3 separate regions of the Homo sapiens genome follow, and all the other regions are linked to region 2. Evidence: promoter capture Hi-C in human tissues and cell types (Jung and others, 2019). All regions are on one chromosome and are shown on one strand. The core of a region is centred on a gene start or on the middle of the fragment in contact, and the rest is flanking DNA. Distances in the headings are between cores, read along the strand shown. Region 1 has its middle 42 kb from the start of TPBG. Region 2 holds the start of TPBG (trophoblast glycoprotein). Region 3 overlaps LOC124901352 (a long non-coding RNA gene).

What was found. Contacts are between HindIII fragments. The study calls those that stand out against the background at their distance.
Region 1: a contact is called between a fragment that was not itself captured here and the fragment with the promoter of TPBG in region 2, in 3 of the 25 tissues and cell types used here (neural progenitor cells, small bowel and thymus).
Region 3: a contact is called between a fragment that was not itself captured here and the fragment with the promoter of TPBG in region 2, in 1 of the 25 tissues and cell types used here (IMR-90 fibroblasts).

Annotation. Positions count from the first base shown.
Region 1 is chr6:82,320,674-82,323,547 of GRCh38, forward strand. No RefSeq gene overlaps it. Among named protein-coding and RNA genes, the nearest start is that of TPBG, 42 kb to the right of the region's middle. The HindIII fragment of the contact is 4,411 bases long and covers 1-2,874 here.
Region 2 is chr6:82,362,430-82,365,255 of GRCh38, forward strand. It overlaps TPBG (trophoblast glycoprotein), which reads left to right and starts at 1,388. Exons shown (of 2, transcript NM_001376922.1): 1 at 1,388-1,479; 2 at 2,194-2,826. The coding sequence starts at 2,533. It overlaps LOC105377875 (a long non-coding RNA gene), which reads right to left and starts at 1,228. Exons shown (of 3, transcript XR_942738.4): 1 at 1,183-1,228. RefSeq lists enhancers at 821-1,334, 1,335-1,846, 1,998-2,826. The HindIII fragment of the contact is 6,837 bases long and covers 1-2,392 here.
Region 3 is chr6:82,413,611-82,416,662 of GRCh38, forward strand. LOC124901352 (a long non-coding RNA gene) reads left to right here. Exons shown (of 2, transcript XR_007059664.1): 2 at 1,836-2,276. Among named protein-coding and RNA genes, the nearest start is that of TPBG, 51 kb to the left of the region's middle. The HindIII fragment of the contact is 4,556 bases long and covers 1-3,052 here.

The DNA of each region.
Region 1 (2,874 bases), core at 82-2,581, 42 kb before region 2:
CACTAATGTTGCAACCAGGTGACAGAAGGTCTAGTGTAGCTGCTCTGAACAAATTTTAACTTCAGTTTGCTCAGGTGCAAAATGCAGGTGATATTCCAACCTATCTGACAGACTATTAAAAGACTTGTATGAGCTTATAATTGTGGGATGATTAATAAGAAATTATTATTTAGTAACTGATATGTTTATCTGCAGTGAAAATAGTATGAAGAATATTATAATGTGAAATAAGGAGGAAATGATTACAATACTTAACATAAAATATTACCTATTTCTGGTGAAAGAGCAGTACAACTTTTGCAAGCACAGCATTACATAAAGCATTTCAGTAATGTTATTCAGTTTGCTTCCCCAGGGTCTTGAAACCAGCTCATAGGTGCTGACTTGTTCCAACCTCAAAATCTTCATTCTAGGCAGAAATTAAACCAAGTCAAAGGAGACAGACATACTCAGAGAAGGGGAAAATATCTAGAGATAAACGATTATGATACTCTCTCTGATAGCCCATCAATTCCTTATATACAAATCTTAGGTGATTCTGATACCCAACTAGGTTTGGAACCAAAGTTGTAGATGGTCTAATACAGTAATTCTCAATCTCTGATGCATATTAAAATCAAGAGAAGAATTTATTTAAAAAATAGAAGCTTCACACACCCAGATATTTTATTGACTTGAGCATCAGAATTTGTTTTAAAAGTCTCCAGTTATTGTATTAATAATGTGCAGCCAGGATCGAGAACAACTGATCTAAGGTATTAAATAAGGAAGAGTTATTCCCTTCTGGAGGAGAGGGGCTCAGTTTCCTTAATTCTTTATTCATTGAGGAAACTGAGCTCCTTTCCTCCAGAAGGGAATAATTAAATTTCTGTAAGCATGCATAAATATGAATAGTCAATTCAATTCAACAAATCTTTATTGAGGACCTACATGTTTGTGGTATTCATGCCTATTAAAAGTGCCTTATTGATTCATAAGAATGAAAGCAATGAAAAATTATACAAGGCAGGCTGGGCATGGTGGCTCACACCTGTAATCCCAGCACTTTGGGAGACTGAGGCAGGCGGATCACTTGAGGTCAGGAGTTCAAGACCAGTCTGGCACATATGATGAAATCTCGTCTCCACCAAAAATACAAAAATTAGCCGGGCCTGGTGGCATGCACCTGTGGTCCCAGCTACTTGGGAGGCTGAGGTATGAGAGTCACTTGAACCCAGCAGGTGGAGGTTGCAGTGAGCTGAAATTGTGCCACTGCCCTCCAGCCTAAGCAATAGAGTGAGACTCTGTCTCAAAAAAAAAAAAAAAAGAAATTATTCAAGGCAGAATAAGGTAAATGCCACAGGAAGAAAAGCAAGGTGTTTTGGTACTTCCAAGAGCTGAGAGATAGCTTGAGGTCTTTATCAGGAATATAGTGTATAATCTGGTTTTAAAATCAGAAAATGTTGACTTCTGAATCTGTAGAACTGAAGATAATACTATGACATGATACTGCAATTCTACCTCATGCTTCAAAAGTTGCCCTGTGTACCAAAAAACTGTCAAGACTGCTCATGATGGACACTAAAACTATAAAAGTGTTTTGAAAGGAATATTGCAAAAAATAAGAGTAATCTTGGATTTCTTTTAACTTGTGTTTGTTTCAAATTACAGAATTGTACTCACTATTGCAAAAGTCCTGAAAAATTACTTGAGAATGCCTATTAGTGATGGTTATGGAATATGCAGTCTTTCCCGGATATCTTTTTAGTTACTTTTTTAACTACCAAAATATATTCTAATATGTCACTACTTCTCCAATTTCAGGGATACCCATTCACTTAAAGGCCTCAGCATCTACCATCTGAATTAGCTCAAAGTCTCCTTTCTGATTTTCTTTCCTGTAATCTCTTATCTCATGCAATTCATTATGCATATTATGAAATCAGTCATTCTGAAACACTATTGTGAAATGTTTTCAATGTCAAGTGTTATCAGTTTTGCTATGAATAATTTTATAGTATCCATTTATTTTTTTCCTTTTCAAAGTTTATCAAAGTACTACATGTAAATAATTTAAGAATAAAAAAAAATCACAAAGCTTACAGCTGTCTCTTAAATCATCTCTTCACATTCTTACTGCTTCCCAGAGGACATCTCTTTCAACTATTTTGGTTAGCTGTTTTCTCCTGGTATTATTTGAATTAATATGTTTATACCACTACTTCTAGATTTCTCAGTATTGGACATTGCCTATTGATTTCTACTCTAAAGGATTGGATGTTGCCTATTGCTTTTCTACTCTAAAGGATGAAGATTTTGCTCAGCTCTACAGTCTGCCTCTTCCTGCAATAAATGTTGTAGAGACTGGGGATATACCCGTGAACAGAACAAAGTCCCCAGTACTTATGAACTTACATTGCGGTTTGAGAAGGTAAAATAACTAAATAACATAAATAACTAAATAACTGAATTATATAATTCCAGAAAGTGAACCATAATATGAAAAAAAGGAAAGAAAAAAAGACAATGGGAAAGGACACAAGTCTCTTTCCTCCCTCTACCCAATATAGTTGTAATAAAACGTTTGATGTTTTCACCGATATGACTAGATAACTACTTGACACTGAAGCATATATCGTACTATAATTACCATTCATTTATTGTACAACTATTTCTTTTCTCTGAGACTGTAATTTTATTTGCATTTGATTTGTTTTCCATGTACTGAGAACTAATTCATTCCTATCATTCTGCCAAAACTATAAAACTTCTCTTGATGTGGTCAAACACAACAGTTAATTCTGTTTTTTTTTTCTCCTTCTCCTTTTCTTCCTCTCTCATCATTCCTCCCAGATACCTCTGTCCTCCTGCTCCAGCCTTTTCCAGTAACTTTCC
Region 2 (2,826 bases), core at 138-2,637:
GATGTAGATAAACGTGCTGAAGATGCAAATTAATGAAACCAGCTTTTGTGCACAAATCTCTGCAGTTTCCAGTGTTTTCAGCTTTTGTCTGAGCCATTTTTGCTGTCGGCTTTGCAGACTATCTCTTTCTATAAAAGTAATCAGGCGTCCGTTGGAGAGTTGGGGTCTTTCTTCACACTAAAGGCACATGTCCCAGGCACAAGCCTCAGGATCCTTATTTGATCTTTTTTAATACGACCAGGTCTTAAATTTCCGAACCATGTTTTCCCTAATTGCCATTTTCTCTCTAAAATGAAGAAGCCTGGAAGAACCTTCTTATCCCTTCGGGGAAATTATTTAATTGGGACAAAGGGGATGTGGAGTTACAGAGAGCAACGATAGGGCTTTCAGAACCCAAAACCTGTCTGGTATAATAACAGATCCTTCCGGTAACCAACCATTCAATTTGTCCCTCTCCCCAACCCCATCCTCTCCATCACCATCTGCCAGATGCCCCCTGGGACAATCGACTTTGAAACCAAACTTCTCTCCCAGGTCAGCTCCTGCAATCCCCACTCCTCATCCTTGGAGCTTTCTCCACAGAAGTGACTTGACACACCGCGCTACATCTGGGGAGGGGGGCGGGTCCGCTTTCCGGGAGACTCAAGTCTTTGCTATTTGCCTTTTGTTTCTGGGATGCCTTTGGCTGCCTTTCTCTTCCATCTGCTTTTAATTTTGGTAAGAGAAAAGCTAATGAATCAGGAATGAATCTCCTCTCCACTAATCTTTTTTTTTTCTTTCTCTCTCTCTCTCTCTTAAAGTTGGCGCGCTCTCTTCACAAGTTCCATCACTACCCAAGAAGTGAGGGGGCGGGGGGGACAGGCGGGAAGGCATTAATTACACCTAAATCTGAAGTTTGCGGCCTCAAGTACCACTTTGATGGGGAGAGCTTCTGAAGCTTCCATACAACCTGCCGTGCCTTTGCTGCTGCCGCAGTAGATTTTCAGCTCATTTCTTTCTGCTGCTGCTTCGCGCTGCTCTGTCATGCCTAAATCTATCTCGTCACTGCCAAAGGTGCCTGAATCAGGGTGAATTCCACGAGATTCACCAGCGGTTTTGCTCCAGTCCAAGGTAAATACAGTATGCAAAATGAGGAACCACCCAAGGATGTCGGGGAGGGGGGAGAGAAAGGGATTCCCTCACCTTTTCCGGCACATTCCTCGTTAATTTCCACCAGGAGGAGGCGCGCAGCCCAGCTCCCCTAGTCTCTCTTCTTAAATCCCCCTACCTACGGCTGCCGAGGTTGGCCGCGCGTCGGGAATCTCCCCGACAGTCCTGGCCCTCCCCCGCCCCCCGGGTTGGTTTTTCCCAGCTGCGGAGGTTGGGAGGTTGGGCCAGGGGCTGGGGTGCGAAGAGAGTCGGCGCCCGCAACGCGGAGCCGGGAAGTCGTCGCTACTCTGGTGGAACTCAGAGTTGGTTCTGGAGGCGGCGGACGCGGAGGTGAGCAGTGGGAGCCCGCGGCCTGGGAGAGACCCGGGAGGCGTCGTTGGGGCCCCTCCCCATCCTCGGGTGGAGAGTAGGGTTGGTTCGGGTTGCCACTGTACCCCGAGTCCCACTGCTGCTTTGTTCCCAGACTCTCCCCTCCTCTTTGGAGATGACTTGAACCCCTTTGAGATCCGAGGGGCTGGCGGGGCGCGGGCTGGGGGGCGACAGTTGTAGCTCCACTTCCTGCTAATGCGAGAAGGTACAAAAAGAGATCAAAAAGTCCTGTAACCTGAAACTTCCCTCGCATCCTAACCGGGACCTGGTGGAGAGGTCTGGGCGGGGGCGGAGACACCCGGAGGCCGACCTTCCGCCGAGGCGGTGCAGGAAGGAACGGGAGAGGGAGAAGTTTGGTAGGGAAGGAATTGGGGATTAAGCGGTAAGTTAGACGCGGGAGACGAGTCTCCTCGGGAAAGGCGGAGGGCGGGAGGCCGGTCGGGTTTATTTAGTGTGGGCCAGGGAAGAAGGAAGACTTTGCGGTCTGGGTGTCGGATGCGCGTCCCCCTCCGGAGTAAAAGTGACCGGAGGGGTTGGGGAGGCGAGGCCGGGGCGGGCTTTTGGAAGGAGGTCTCTGGGACAGACTGGAGACGACTAGACTCGAAAAGGCCGGTTTTTGCACTCCGGAAGCCGCGGCAGCCACCGCTGTTCACGCCTCTCTCCTGCTTGTCCCAGGTCCCTCAGAGGATCCAGCGAGGGGCGCCAACAAGAGGCGAAGAGGTGGCACCAGGGCGGCGGCAGGAAGAGGAGCGGGAGCAGGAGCGCGGAGCGGAGCGTCCCGACCCGCCGTGCGTACTTTCTGGAGGGAAGGGGCGGGGGAATCGGCCCCTGAGGGAAGCGCCCGGTGGCGAGGGGGTTAGCCAAGTTCCGGCTGCGGCGCCACTCCCTCGGTTCCACGAGAGGAAAGTTTTTTTTTTCCAGACGCTTCCGCCGGCTCGCGCCCTCCGGGCCCAGCCTCCCGAGCCTTCGGAGCGGGCGCCGTCCCAGCCCAGCTCCGGGGAAACGCGAGCCGCGATGCCTGGGGGGTGCTCCCGGGGCCCCGCCGCCGGGGACGGGCGTCTGCGGCTGGCGCGACTAGCGCTGGTACTCCTGGGCTGGGTCTCCTCGTCTTCTCCCACCTCCTCGGCATCCTCCTTCTCCTCCTCGGCGCCGTTCCTGGCTTCCGCCGTGTCCGCCCAGCCCCCGCTGCCGGACCAGTGCCCCGCGCTGTGCGAGTGCTCCGAGGCAGCGCGCACAGTCAAGTGCGTTAACCGCAATCTGACCGAGGTGCCCACGGACCTGCCCGCCTACGTGCGCAACCTCTTCCTT
Region 3 (3,052 bases), core at 369-2,868, 51 kb after region 2:
CCTCAATTAGCAGGGCTTGAGCAGAGGCATTGATTCTGAGAAGAAATGTGCTGAAACAATGTGCCACCAAGTCTAGGCTGGATCAGAAGAAACTGGGAGAGAGAGGGGTCCCAGGCTGGTGCAGGGGAATGGAGGATGACCTGTGATCACAGCACATTGGCAACTTTCATGAGTTCAAAGATAAAATATGTCAGGAGCAATGGAGTGAGATTTTTGGAAGGATAAGGACTGTGATCATAGTAGGATATTGAAGCTGTTTCAGGTGATGATGCCTTAGGGTACGAACCTGGGAGTGGATCAAGGCAAAGGCTGCTGGAGAAAAGCTCAGAGTTGAGATGTTTCAAGAATATTTAGAGCTGTAACCTAAGAAACAAAAATTACTTTTTAAGTGAAATTTTTTATTTATCTAGAATCAGGAGGGTTTTTTTCCTGCCCACAACTCAGCTGAAATGATGATGCAATTACTTTAGTGAATATCTCAATTATCAACTTAGACCTGTTAGTTGTTCTTTAATCAATGTTGCTATGCAGAAATGTTCATGATTGTCCTACATAAGGCAGGCTAACTCATAAAACAAATAAACCCAAAAATGTATCACGGCCTAAGCATGATAGAAGAAATGGTATAGACTATGCTTCAGCCTAAGAACCAGGCAGATAGTTGATTGAATCTATAAAAAAATTTTTTTAAAGAGGATGGGATTAAATAAGATATGGATATATAATACTTGGCTGCTTTTCCTTTGCTTTTTATTATTATTATTATTTTTAGTTTCAGTTACTGGCAAAGCATCGCCAAAAGGGTATCCATACTTAGAAATGCATGCAGGATCACTCAGTGATGTGCTAAACACTCATCAAAAGCAGAGATAAGGGATTTTGGCCAAGGACAGATAACAGAGGATGGATGGCCTAAAGAGGAGAGAAAAGGACACTTACTGACTGCCTGAAACAGGAGTGGCTGCTGGCCCCAAGATCAACAGCACCAAAGTGGAACACATTGTCTTCCTCTCAGAACAAACGCCTCTGCCTTCCAACTTCTTTATTTCTGTTAATGCCCCCACCCCATCCCCCAGCCCAGTCTTCTAGTTTGCTGGACGTGGACACTGGAAGTCACTGTGTGTTTCTCACATTCTTCTAAGTCCTACAGACATCTCATAAGTCATCAAAAGCCTCTCGATTAATCCTTCATCACATCTCCAGCAGCCTGAAGAATGCTTTGTCAGGCTCATGACACTCTGCTGCTGGAGGAGCAGCAGTGGGAGGGGTTGTGGGGCCATTCTTCCTTAGCCGTCCTACCTGGTGGGTGACTCTGTGGGTTTTCTGGCAGGTGGTTGGGATTGCCCTAGAAGTGCTTCTGTGGATTGGGTGATGAGACTCTACTCTTCCAAGACTCTGCACCCCTCCAACCCTGGGATAAGATTCTGTTAAGTGCACTGCAACCTACATGCCATTTTTAAAAGGCAAAGCAGAAATATAGGGCATTGCTTTATAGATTAAAAGCTTTCCAGGAACTGTATGGCACTGGTTTTTAAAAACCACGCACACACATGCACACACGCAAATATGCACATTTACATACACAAACTTTTTTGAAAATTCTCACGTGTGAGTGTATTTAATTCTGCTTTATAGTCAAATCACAACACCAAAGAGGCACCCCTTAATTAGCAATATTCTTATACAGAGATGTTCATGGCTATGCTAGCTAGGGTAGGCTAATTGGTGAAACATATAAACCCCCAAATGTATAATGAAACAAAAAAGAGGGCAATTTCTTGCTTGTATAAGGTCTAAAATGGGTTTTTCTCATTGACGGCTGGCTCTCTTTTCAGCAGGAATTCAGATCCTTTTCATCTGTGACTCTGTCATTTTCAACATGTGGCTTCAAAAGTCTGCTTCAAGCCAGTGAAAAGAAAACAAATATGAAGAATAGACTTTTCCAGGCCTGGAAGTGGCACTTATGACTTTCACTCACATCCCAACAGCCAGAACTCAGTTATATGGGAAATGTAATCTAACTATGTGTCCATGAAGAACAGGACATCCGGGAAGCAATTAGCAGTTTTTTCTACAATGGTATAGCAACTGGATCAGTGTGGAGAATTTACAGGGCATCAAAGAAGAACCACTCTTCTTTACCCAACATGGTGGTGTAGGTACACTAGAAACTCTTGGTGGAGGAATAGGTCAGACCTATAAGTGAACAGGAAGCCAGTGGTTACATTTAGGGGGAAATATTTGAAATTCTAATAAAGTTTTTTCATTGTCTAAAATATACTGAAAGGAATTTTCTTAAATGAACACATTCTTCAATAATACAAAGTTGGCAAATTGGCAGGTTGGGAAGTAGGCAGTAGCAATGTGAACCAGTTGGAACTAGACAAGAAGCCCAGACTAGAAAAACAAAGCCCAGGCAAAAATCCAAGAATGCCAGGGCAATACCAGCATGAGAAATCAGATAAGTGAATAGAAACCAGGAAGCCATAGAAATTTTGGAGCAGAGTAAAATTAAAGTTACAAAACCTGGATGGGAGAGCTGGTCCTACTATTTACAGATGGACACAGGAGAACCCGCTTAACTTCTCTGAGTTTGTTTATTCATGTGTAGACTTGGGGTAATCATATCTACCTCATAATAACTGGAGAATCAAGTGAGATGATGCAATGAAAACTCATGTACCCTGGCAAAAGGAGAAAATGGGCTAATTTTAAGTGTTTTTGTTTTTATAAGCTTAGGGTTAAGGAGGGAACAGTGCTATTTAGGAAGAAGAGGAGTTGAAACCTCTTTTTTTGACAAATAAATCCCTGGTCCTGAACTGGCAGAAAAGGTTGAGAAGAACTACTTTGTGTAAACTCTATCTTCGTGGGGAAAACTTGCAGATTCAGTTTCCTTTATAAAAGTCCATTCTTCCTGCCGTCCTGCATGCCTTTCTCCCTCACTCCTTTCTCTCTGCTTTTACTTCCTCTTTTTACTTTTCTCCTTTATTTTTCCTCTATTTTTTTTCTCCATCTAGTTTCTTTGTTAGGTGAGCCTGGACAGTGAGGAGAG